2 separate regions of the Homo sapiens genome follow, and region 1 is linked to region 2. The links are contacts of gene promoters, found by promoter capture Hi-C in blood cells and fetal thymus (Javierre and others, 2016). All regions are on one chromosome and are shown on one strand. The core of a region is centred on a gene start or on the middle of the fragment in contact, and the rest is flanking DNA. Distances in the headings are between cores, read along the strand shown. Region 1 overlaps PLCXD2 (phosphatidylinositol specific phospholipase C X domain containing 2). Region 2 holds the start of NECTIN3-AS1 (NECTIN3 antisense RNA 1).

Region 1 (5,005 bases), core at 1,304-3,803, 620 kb after region 2:
ATTGACCCAGATAACTCAAGCTAGAAGGAAAAAGGGAGATAAATGGAGCTAGGAAACAGGTGCAAGGGGTGAAAAGGAGCAGAGAGTGAACCCTACCTGTTTAATGTTGGATGGACCTAATAGAAGTTTGGGAAAGGATCAGGAGAGCTAGGCCCACCAGCCTTAGGCAACTCTCTGAGCATCTGTTCATTCAAGTATCCATGCTTGTATTTATTCTGTATAGATGCATTTAGTACCTACTAAATTCCAGAAACTAAGTTTGGAGATATAAGCGTGAAGTTGACATGTTCCTGCCCTGAAAGACTTTCACTTAGGTGGCAGAGACAGATGTGGAGATAAATAGCACTCAATGTCCTAAGTTCATCAAATATCAACTCACTGCCATGGAATCACAGAGGAAAGAACAGGTCAGTCTCCTTGGTAGAGTCAGGTGAGCTCACAGACTAATGATGGTAATTAAAATGGAAAGGCAAGGGACAATAAGATTGTCCCCAAGGACTCTAAGGGTTTTTTGTTTTCTTAGACAAGTCTTTTGCTATATTCAATGACCATAAGGCGTACTTATATGTATTAATAACTTTGTAAATTAATATATTCTTAACTCAGGCCTCAAATATTTTAACATGCACAATTATTATCTGTTCATATTAAATTTATTGTAATATTTGTATGGATTAAATACCTGAATTGGAATACAAGATGTTTTTCTATGAAAGCCACCCTAAATATCTTCAGCATTTAAGAACACATGTTCATCCCTCTGTTCTTTATGGGTTTTTTCTTTCTTTCTTTCTTTTTTTTTTTTTTGTTTTTGAGACAGGGTCTTGCTCTGTCACCCAAGCTGGAGTACAGTGACGTGACCATGGCTCACTGAAGCCTCAACCTCCTGGCTCAAGCAGTTCTCCATCTCAGCCTCCTGAGTAGATGAGACTACAGGCACATGCCATCACACCTGGCTAATTTTTTTTTATTTCTAGTAGAGACCAGGTCAGGCTGGTCTCAAACTCCTGAGCTCAAGCGATCCTCTCGCAATGACCTCCCAAAGTGCTGGGATTACAGGCATGAGCCACTGTGCCCAGCCTTTTCTTATATCTTTTATCCTCTCTCTCTCTTTGTTATTCACACAGGAGGCACTATGAAAAAGTAGTTCAGAGTGTAGGTTGTAGGCTCAAATCCTCGCTACTATTAATAGTTGCATGACCTTGAGTAAAAAGCTTTACCCCTCTGTCTGTTAGTTTTTTCATCTGTAAAATTGAGATAATTATAATATCCACTTCAAAAGTGCAAAGTTAGAGGAAGCACAAGCTGGAAGACTACCCTCACTCTGATACCAGTTACAGGTTTGGGAGCCTTAAGATCACCCTTGTTTGATAATTTGCTAGGAAGATTGACAGAACTCATTGAAAGTTGTTATACTCATAGTTACTGTTTATTGCTCTGAAAGGCTGCAGATCAAAATCAGCTAAAGGAAGAGGTGCATGGAGCAAAGTTCAGGAAATTTCCAAATGTGGAGCTTCCAGTTGTCCTCTTCTCATGGACAGTGTTTCTTTCCTCGTATTGATGTGTGACAGTACCACACAAAGTACTGCTAACCAGGGAAGCTCACCTGAGCTTTGGTGTCCAGAATCTTTTCTGGTCTTCCACATGGCTGACCTAAGTATCCAGCCCCTTCAGAGGTTAAGCCCATGCCCATGTGACTCAAATCCTGCACCATAAATCACATCCTTATACTTTCCCTTATGGCCCAAAGCTGTCAGGTAAATAAAGATACTTTGATCAGGCAGGACATTCCAAGGGCTTAAGCAATTGCCTCCCAAGGACTGAGGGCGAAGACCATACCTCCTTTTGGGTAAGGTTTAAATTTTTTACTACACAACAAAGTTACTTAAGAATTAAATTTCAAAAAAGAATTAAACAAGATAAATGTAAATTAACTTTAAAAAAAGAATTAAATAAGATATACAATGTGATTAGAATATTGCCAATTATGAAATAAATATGTTATATATATATATAGCTATTATTATTAAACATCCTTTTGATTACTTAATATATACCTAATATCATAATAGCTACTGTGGGACATTTTTAAAAAATGAACAAGATGTAGTTTGTAGATCTTATAAGAGATATACAAGAGTTCAAATAAAGTAAATAAAAGCAGAATGAGGTGAGTACCATGATAAAGAAACAAGCAAACTGTGCTGGGACCTGGAAAGGGAAAGGTTACTTCTAGTTGGTGGGTAAGGAACTGCTTCAGGAGAAGAGCACCTGTGAGCTGGACTGTGAGAGACAGGGAGGATTTCAACATGAAGAGGGAAGGACATTCCAGAGACAGGGAAGCAAATGCCCAAAATTAGAGATGAGAAAACAAGGGCACCTTCAGGAAACAGAGAAGGGCTGCCATGGTCACCTGTAGAAGTGACAGGAGAAGGAAATGGGAAAGTTACGGAAAGACAGACAAGCCAGTTGGAGAGAGATTTTCAGCACTGTGCTAAGCACTTTATGCTTTGTGTTGTAGACCATAGGGAGCCAGTGACAATTTTGGGCTTGAAGAAAACTGTGAAAGAAAGTGTTCTATCCCTGTTATAATTCCAGTCTTTGAACACCCTCCCTTCCAATAACCCACCTTCGCTTTGCCTCGCCAATTACAGTTCAGTTCAGGTATGACCTCTGTGCACATTTCCATTATAGGACATGATATACCCCATTGGGACTGTTTCTCTCTGCTGTATACAACTGTTTTGTCATTTCTGTATACTTGCTGTCTTGTTCAGAATAAGCACCTTATGATAAAAGTGGAGGGAAAGAAGAAGGAGGGGAAAGATGGAATCTTGAAATATATCTACAAAGAATTTAAGCATAAAAAACAGATATTTAAAAATCTATATTTCTAGTTAAGGAGAAACTAGGACAGGCAGGAAGCAAGTAGTAACGCCTAAGGTAAGACAAAATCTTATAACTGCATTGCAGTCTTCTCAAGATGCCTCAAGGCTTTAAGAGTAAGAACAAGTATAATAATAATAAAAGAAGCAGAAGAAAGATAGCTTGCTCATTTAATATTTATATAGCACTTCCTAGGGGACCGATATTGCTGTTTGATTTATATAAAGCCAATTAATTATTATAATAAATTAATGATGTAGATACTCCTACTATCCCCATTTTACAGATGAAGAAATTCAGTCACAGAGAGGTTAAGCAGATGGCCCCCCAAAATCCTGATAACAATACTAGAATTGTAAAAATTAGGTCATGCCAAATTCATTTAATTGCATTTGAATAAAAGTCATTGATAGAGTTGGAGATTGACCCAGTGTTGGGTTGTAACTTTAGTTTCTTTTGTTGGTTGTAATAAAGGGTAATTTTCTTTTCATCTGAGGCCATTTGCTCCCATGTCGGGACTCTAATGCATGAGCACCCATGAGGATGGTGATGTTTGAAGGACTACATGCTGACCTGTTCTGGCTGAACAAGTTACATTTTTTTTTTCAAGACCAGACATCTAGGAGGCTTTTTATTGACTCAGAACAAAAGCAGCCCAGTGGTTTAAGTGGTCTATGTAGTAATCACCCAGCAAGGCTCCGGCACAGAAAAAAATCTATCTGGCCTCTATTCTGCCTCTACACAGAAAGACCAGCATGAGGCTTTAGCAGGTGTGTAAGCTCTCAGAACACTGGTCTTCAAGGGTGGGGTGTGTTTTCATTCACTTTCCCCGTTGGGTGTAATGTACAAATTCCCTTTAAGCCCACCATTTCATGTAATTTAAACTGCTACTTACTGGATTTTCTCTCCTCCCTTTTCCCTTTCCTCTGTCAGAACACCTAGCTTAGGCCTTTATTTACAGGAAAGAGAAAAAAACCTCTTCTTATCCTGGAGGGGAACTAGCTAAGAAGCTTCTCTGTATCTCATTCTCCAATTTATCAAATGAATCTTAAAATAACTCTGCCCTGTGAAAAATTCCAGCCAAACTAGGTAACTTTAAATATGTTTTTTCAAAGTCCCAATGATAAATTCCATTAAAATGACCCACAAAATAATGAAACAACAGCCTTTAAAGTGAAGGGCACTGTCACATAAATGCTAAACAATAAGTGAACTATTAGCCAATGCATTTAATCACTGTAGGACACACCTAAGACCCAACAGGAATATGGGTCCTAGGAATCTGTGTGAGCAGAAAGAAGGTCTCCAGCAATTTGACGAAATTCTCAGCCAAAAAGCAATAAATACCACTTTAGGCTTGGAATGATTTGCTTTTTGCAAATATGATGAGTTAAATTTACAGGCATATTTTCTGTTTAAGTATGGTAAGTGTGAAAGAAAAATGTTATTTCTTTGCAATGATGAATAGTCCTTCATAAATATGGTCACAAATGCCTTTAGTAAGCTGTTAATAAGTGGAATTATCCAATTCTTAAGATAGAAGAGACCCTAAGTCGCATTTCACTCACTTTCCTAAGTTTGCAAATGAAGAAACAGAATTCCAAGTACAAGTTTGGAAGCCCAGGTTCACAGAAGTAATCACAGCAGAACCAGCACTGGGATTCAGGCTCAGCTGTGGAATTACAGACTGTTTCTTCAACTGAGAGAAGGTTAGAGTGCCCTCCTGTGTCCCTATGTAGAAATTCTTTAGGTCTTTACAAAATTTAAAATAGCTTTAATCTCTTCATCAATTTTCCTGCACTGGCAGGGACCAGGCATTTAGGTCCAAAGACAAACTCTGCAATCACCATGTTATTGAAAGTAAATGAACAATGCACTTGACTTGTTTAATCAATAAGGACATAGAACCAATACTATCATCCCCAGAGTATCTTTGTGTGCACTGAGGTCTGACAGACCTGGGTCTATGTCCCGGGCAGCCACATGCAATCTTTGCAACCCTGAACTAGTTGCAAAACCAGTCTGAGCCTCAGTTTCCTCATCTGTAAAATGCAGGTAATCACTGCCCTGCAGGATTGTAGCACAGGTCAAATGAGATCATGTAAGTAAAATGCCCAGC
Region 2 (4,948 bases), core at 1,607-4,106:
TATGAATACAGAGTGGAGAGATAATAGTTTAATAAACAGCACTAATAACAATTATATCAAGAGTGTTAAGCAATGGTCAGAGTAACCACCTTCCAGCTTAAAAAAACTATACATGATCAATCCTATTGTTCAAGACCTTAAAGAAGTATAAACCTCTACTGAATGAGACATGCACTTGAGTATGCTATGTCATAATAATCATTTAATCATCCAGTTTGGAATCTATATGGCAGACATTATTCTAGGTACTTGGGGTTTTTGTTTTGTTTTGTTCTGGTTTTGGTTTTTTTTGGGGGACAGGGTCTTTCTCCAGCTGCCTAGGCTAGAGTACAGGGATGCAATCTTGGCTCACTGCAGCCTCGACCTCCTGGGCTCAGCTGATTCTCGTACCTCAGCCTTCAAAGTAGCTGGGACTACAAGAGCACATCACTACACCCGGCTAATTTTTTTTTTTTTGTATTTATAGGAGAAAGGAGGTTTTGCTATTGATATGGTTTGGCTGTGTACCCACCCAAATCTCATCTTTAATTGTAGCTCCCACAATTCCCACGTGTTGTGGAAGGGACCTAGTGGAAGGTGATCGAATCATGGGGGCAGGTCTTTCCTGTGCTGTTCTCCTGATAGTGAATAAGTCTCATGAGATCTGATGGTTTTATAAAGGGGAGTTTTCCTGGACATGTTCTCTTGCCTGCCACCACTTTGCTCCTCCTTGCCTTCTTCCATGATTAAGGCCTCCCAAGCCATGTGGAACTGTGAGTCAATTAAACCTCTTTCCTTTATAAATTACACAATCTCAAGTATGTCGTTATTAGCAGCATGAGAACAGACTAACACAGCCATGTTGCCAGGCTCGTCTTGAACTCCTGGACCCAAGCAATCTGCCAGCCTTGGCCTCCCAAAGTGGTGGGATTTCAGGCAGGAGGCACTGTGCCTGGCCTACTTGAGTTTTAACAGTGAAAATATAGATACTTGCTTGCCCTTGTGGACTGTTCATTCTAGTGAAAGGGAACAGACAGTAAATTAGAGACATGTCAGATGGTAAGGGCAATGGAGAAAATAAAGCAAGTTAAGGGCATAGGGATTAGGGTGGGGGAAGCTCTTTCATATGATGTGGTCCTGGAGAGCCTCAATGATAAAGTTAAATTTTATCAAAGATTCAAAGGAAATAGGAGGGAGAAAGTCATATGAGCATACAGGGAAGATCTGTTCAGTAAGAAAGACTTGCATTTAATAAGAGTAAGGTTGGTGAACGTTTTGCAAGTGGATGGACTTTTCTGCGATTTTGCAGTTTGTTTTTTATTATTTGCATAATTCTCTTTACAAAAACTGTGATCCTAACTGGATAACATAAGCTTATTATCAAATATAGTACAAAGTTCAAATATTCTACAAAATATCATTCATCTCTTTTACTAAAGGAAAAGCTATGCGTCCTCACACAGCAGGTTATAGAATTTGCTGATGTTAAGAAGAATTAGCTGAAGTATATAATGTCTTACCTCTCCTGTAAAATACCTCCTTTGTTTCAGAGTCAGCTATGAAATTCTAATAATAGTCTCAAACTTTTCACTTGGATTATTTGAGTAAATGTAAAATGCCCAGCACTGTACATAATTACTTCTTTGTTAAGATGTCAACCTTTGTTTTTTAGTTAAGAGTTAATGAACCTTGATAATTGGCAAACAATCTTTGAGCCGAAAGTAGGATGGACACCATCAGTACTCTTAACCCAAAACAATGAAACTATTGTTGGCATTAGGATTACATTGCTTTCTGTTCAGATAATTTTTTTCTGAAAAAATGCATGTATACTTTGTTATTCAATGGTGTCAGAAATATTAATAAGTTAGCTATAATTAAGTATTCCTTAAACAGTTTGTTATTCAAACAATAAATGTGAACTTATGTATAAAGTTAGAAGACTAAAAATGGCATAGAACGCACTAATACTCTCATGCTAAAGGTTTTAAAAAAATTAATAGTATTTCTGCCCTTGAAAAACATGAGTTGTATATGTAATGTAAAATCTTTTTCTGTGGCCAGTAAAAATTTCCAACAGGAAAGCTTGGGGTGAGTATGTCTAAAATTCACTCATCTGAGGAGAATGTAATTTAAGATTGGGCACTTTTATTATAGAAAGTAGAAATTTGAGTTATCTTACTTTTTAACTTAAAGAATCATCTTGAGAGATCAATGGTGTCCACTGGAAGGCAAGAACTTGGTTCTGGCAGGAAAACCACCACTGGCTGGTAGTATTTGCAGAGCACTTAACCTCTGTGCCTAGGTTCTTGTAGCTGTCAAGTAGATAATAGTAATTGCTACCTTCCGTGGGAAGTGAGCTTGTGCTTTGACATCTTTAGTTGAAGATGCTGTATAAACACAAATTATTATTATTAGAATATAATACATATATGCACATAAAACACCAGCATGGTGCTCTTTTAATGCTTATATAACATCTATAAATAATGCTCTTCCATGCTCTCTCTTCACTTTAGGTCAGAGAATATCATAGCAGACCACTATTCAATTTCTGTAAGTATGGAGGAAATATATTTGTTAAAGCTCCATGTCATCTTTTTGAGACGAACTTAACCTGCTAATTCCTTATGGTCTCTGTAGCAATTGCCCGATGGCCCCTACCCAAGTTAAGCCTTTGGTATTTTTTGAAATGTTGGCTAAATTACTTTTCTTGGAGATGTGGAGCCATCAGGGAAAACCTGGAAGAATGAAATTGGCTAGTGATATTAAAATTTTGGTTGTTTAACATTTAACTGAGTCTCAACAACGTGTTAAAGTGCTATCTAAACAGATAATTAGCTAGTGGCTGCGCAGTGAGCTGTCTAAATTTAGCAGTGAAATTAGGTTTAGGGAATGCGAATATAGAAAAAGAAATTTTCTCAAGGGAAACGGTGGTGTCAGCACAGCTGAGGAATGTCACAATAGCTACATTTTGTCAATTATGATCATCATCAGGGGATCTCCCGGAGCGATGCAGGACAAGGTTTATTCATAAGTGCATCTTGAGAATAGGTGATAGAAAGCCTTGGCTGCAGGAGACAAGCTTACAGGGGACGACAGAGGCAGACAGGCACAGGGAGGGAGGGAAGAGGAAAGGGCTGGAGGGAAAAAGGCACTAGACCGAGCGCTGGGAGACTGGAAGGGAGGCAGAAGTTAAGAAAGAAAAAAGAGGTGGGCAGGGTGTAGAATGGCTTGTAGCCTTGGAGGTTAGTAAAGCCTTGTAATCCAGCGGGCGGAAGGTGGGAAGACCCTATTGACTGAAAGCCGAGGACAGCGTGGTCTTGGCCGCAAGCATGCATTAGTTTAGCTGCGACAGGCTAACTTCTGGGCGGCTGATCCTTGTTCAGCTTTCCTGTTACTGGAACACATTTATGGCTATCTCGTGGAGATGACAGGACCTACATAAAATTAATAGTGTCAGGCCTGAGGACTGGTGTCCTCTGCCTTCAATTCACCCCCTACGCTGGACAGTCCAAATTGTCCACCCTCCTACTCCCCCCGCGGAACCAATGTGGCAGTGGCTCCAAGGTCAAGCTGCCGGTACTGTGCGAGGCGGGAGGATGGAGAGGGCAGGGCGGAGAGCCACCTGGGATGAGCGAGGGTCATGGTGGACCACAGACGCTCTTCTTATACGGGCAAATGTTTAATACTTCCCGAGGTCGCCTCTCTGCCATCAAACGAAAACAGGCAAGAAAATAAAACTACACATACGAACATGCAAAGGAAACAAAACCAAAGAAAAACACCAACGCACTCGTTGGGGGAAATCCATGGCCTCCTGTTGCCAGTCGCCCGGCGCGGAAAGTGGACAGCCCAGCGGCCAGTGAGAAGCAAGAGCAAGAAAGCAAACCTTCTGAAGACCCCTCTCCTCGCCCAGCTCCGCCGACCATTCTACCAAGCTGCCCTCCCAGAAAAAAGAGCAGGAAAAATGCCTGTGCAAACGTGCCTTGGCGAGCGGGGAATAAGTGGGCTGGGAAGAAGGGAAGGATTCGGAGAGCACAGCTGTCCCGGGGAACAGGAAGGAGGAGAAAGTCTCTCCCTCCCTTCAGTGCCCCGCGCCCCAGCGAGGAGGAAGATTACTAGTCCAGCAGGCTGCGTCCAGCTTCCTACACAGGAACCTTTAGCATGGGCAACGGAAGGGCAGCCCCCTCCTGCCTTCCCCTCCCCACCCCACCCCCTCGTCCCAGGTCCCCGCCACAGGGAGAGCGCCGCCCGGGAGAGGAGAAGGCCGAGCGTGATTGTCCCGCAGCCCTCGCCTCAGTCGGCGCCGGGGCCCCCGTGGACCCGCGAGGGGTGGAGTGGGCGAGACCATTGGAAAGGCAGGGAAGGGGGGAAACCAGGCAGGAACGAGGGGCGGGGCCGACTAACCTATTCCAGATTTTCCTGTCCCTTTTAAATCTCTGCTGTGGGAGAAACCCCGTTATCAAAGTGGATGAAAAGAATATTTTTTTTTGAAAGGGGAGGAGCATGTGTAGGAGGGCGGGGTGGGAGGAGACAGGGCTTGCGCCCGGGGATCAGACGGGAGGTGGAGTTGCGCGGGGAGGGCGGGCGAGTCGGGCGCCCGCTCTGAGAGTCGGTTTCTTTTCCCCCTCTTGCGTGGGGCGGGGTGGTGCGTTCCGAGTTCCCAGGAGTTCGACGCGGGCGGGTGCCGAGGGGAGGGGAGTGGCGGCGGCGGCGGGCGGCTCCCGCTTCAGCCTCGGCAGTGGCGTCGGCGACGGCGGTGTCGAGGCAGCCGCCAGCGTTCGGCCAAGTGTCAGCCGGCAGCGACGGCGCTAGAGCTGGGAGCTGGGGACGCGCGCGCCGGACCTTCCACAGCCTCCGCCCAGAGCCTGAGGCGCCGGGGCCGGGGGAGCCGGGGGGCGGGCGGGCGAGCGGGCCGGGGGGAGGGTGGGGGATGGCGCGGACCCTGCGGCCGTCCCCGCTGTGT

The links. Contacts are between HindIII fragments. The CHiCAGO score rates a contact against its expected background, and 5 or more counts as called.
Region 1: a contact is called between a fragment that was not itself captured here and the fragment with the promoter of NECTIN3-AS1 in region 2, in 1 of 17 cell types (fetal thymus). The highest score is 5.7, in fetal thymus.

The regions. Positions count from the first base shown.
Region 1 is chr3:111,686,892-111,691,896 of GRCh38, forward strand. All of the region lies in intron 1 of PLCXD2 (phosphatidylinositol specific phospholipase C X domain containing 2), which reads left to right. Among named protein-coding and RNA genes, the nearest start is that of PLCXD2-AS1, 12 kb to the left of the region's middle. The HindIII fragment of the contact is 2,682 bases long and covers 1,213-3,894 here.
Region 2 is chr3:111,067,103-111,072,050 of GRCh38, forward strand. NECTIN3-AS1 (NECTIN3 antisense RNA 1) reads right to left here and starts at 2,857. Exons shown (of 4, transcript NR_045114.1): 1 at 2,688-2,857; 2 at 2,162-2,369. It overlaps LOC151760 (putative uncharacterized protein LOC151760), which reads right to left and starts at 4,664. Exons shown (of 4, transcript XR_007096272.1): 1 at 4,390-4,664; 2 at 2,162-2,369. NECTIN3 (nectin cell adhesion molecule 3) reads left to right here and starts at 4,714. Exons shown (of 6, transcript NM_015480.3): 1 at 4,714-4,948. The coding sequence starts at 4,916. RefSeq lists a silencer at 4,442-4,541. The HindIII fragment of the contact is 1,000 bases long and covers 2,063-3,062 here.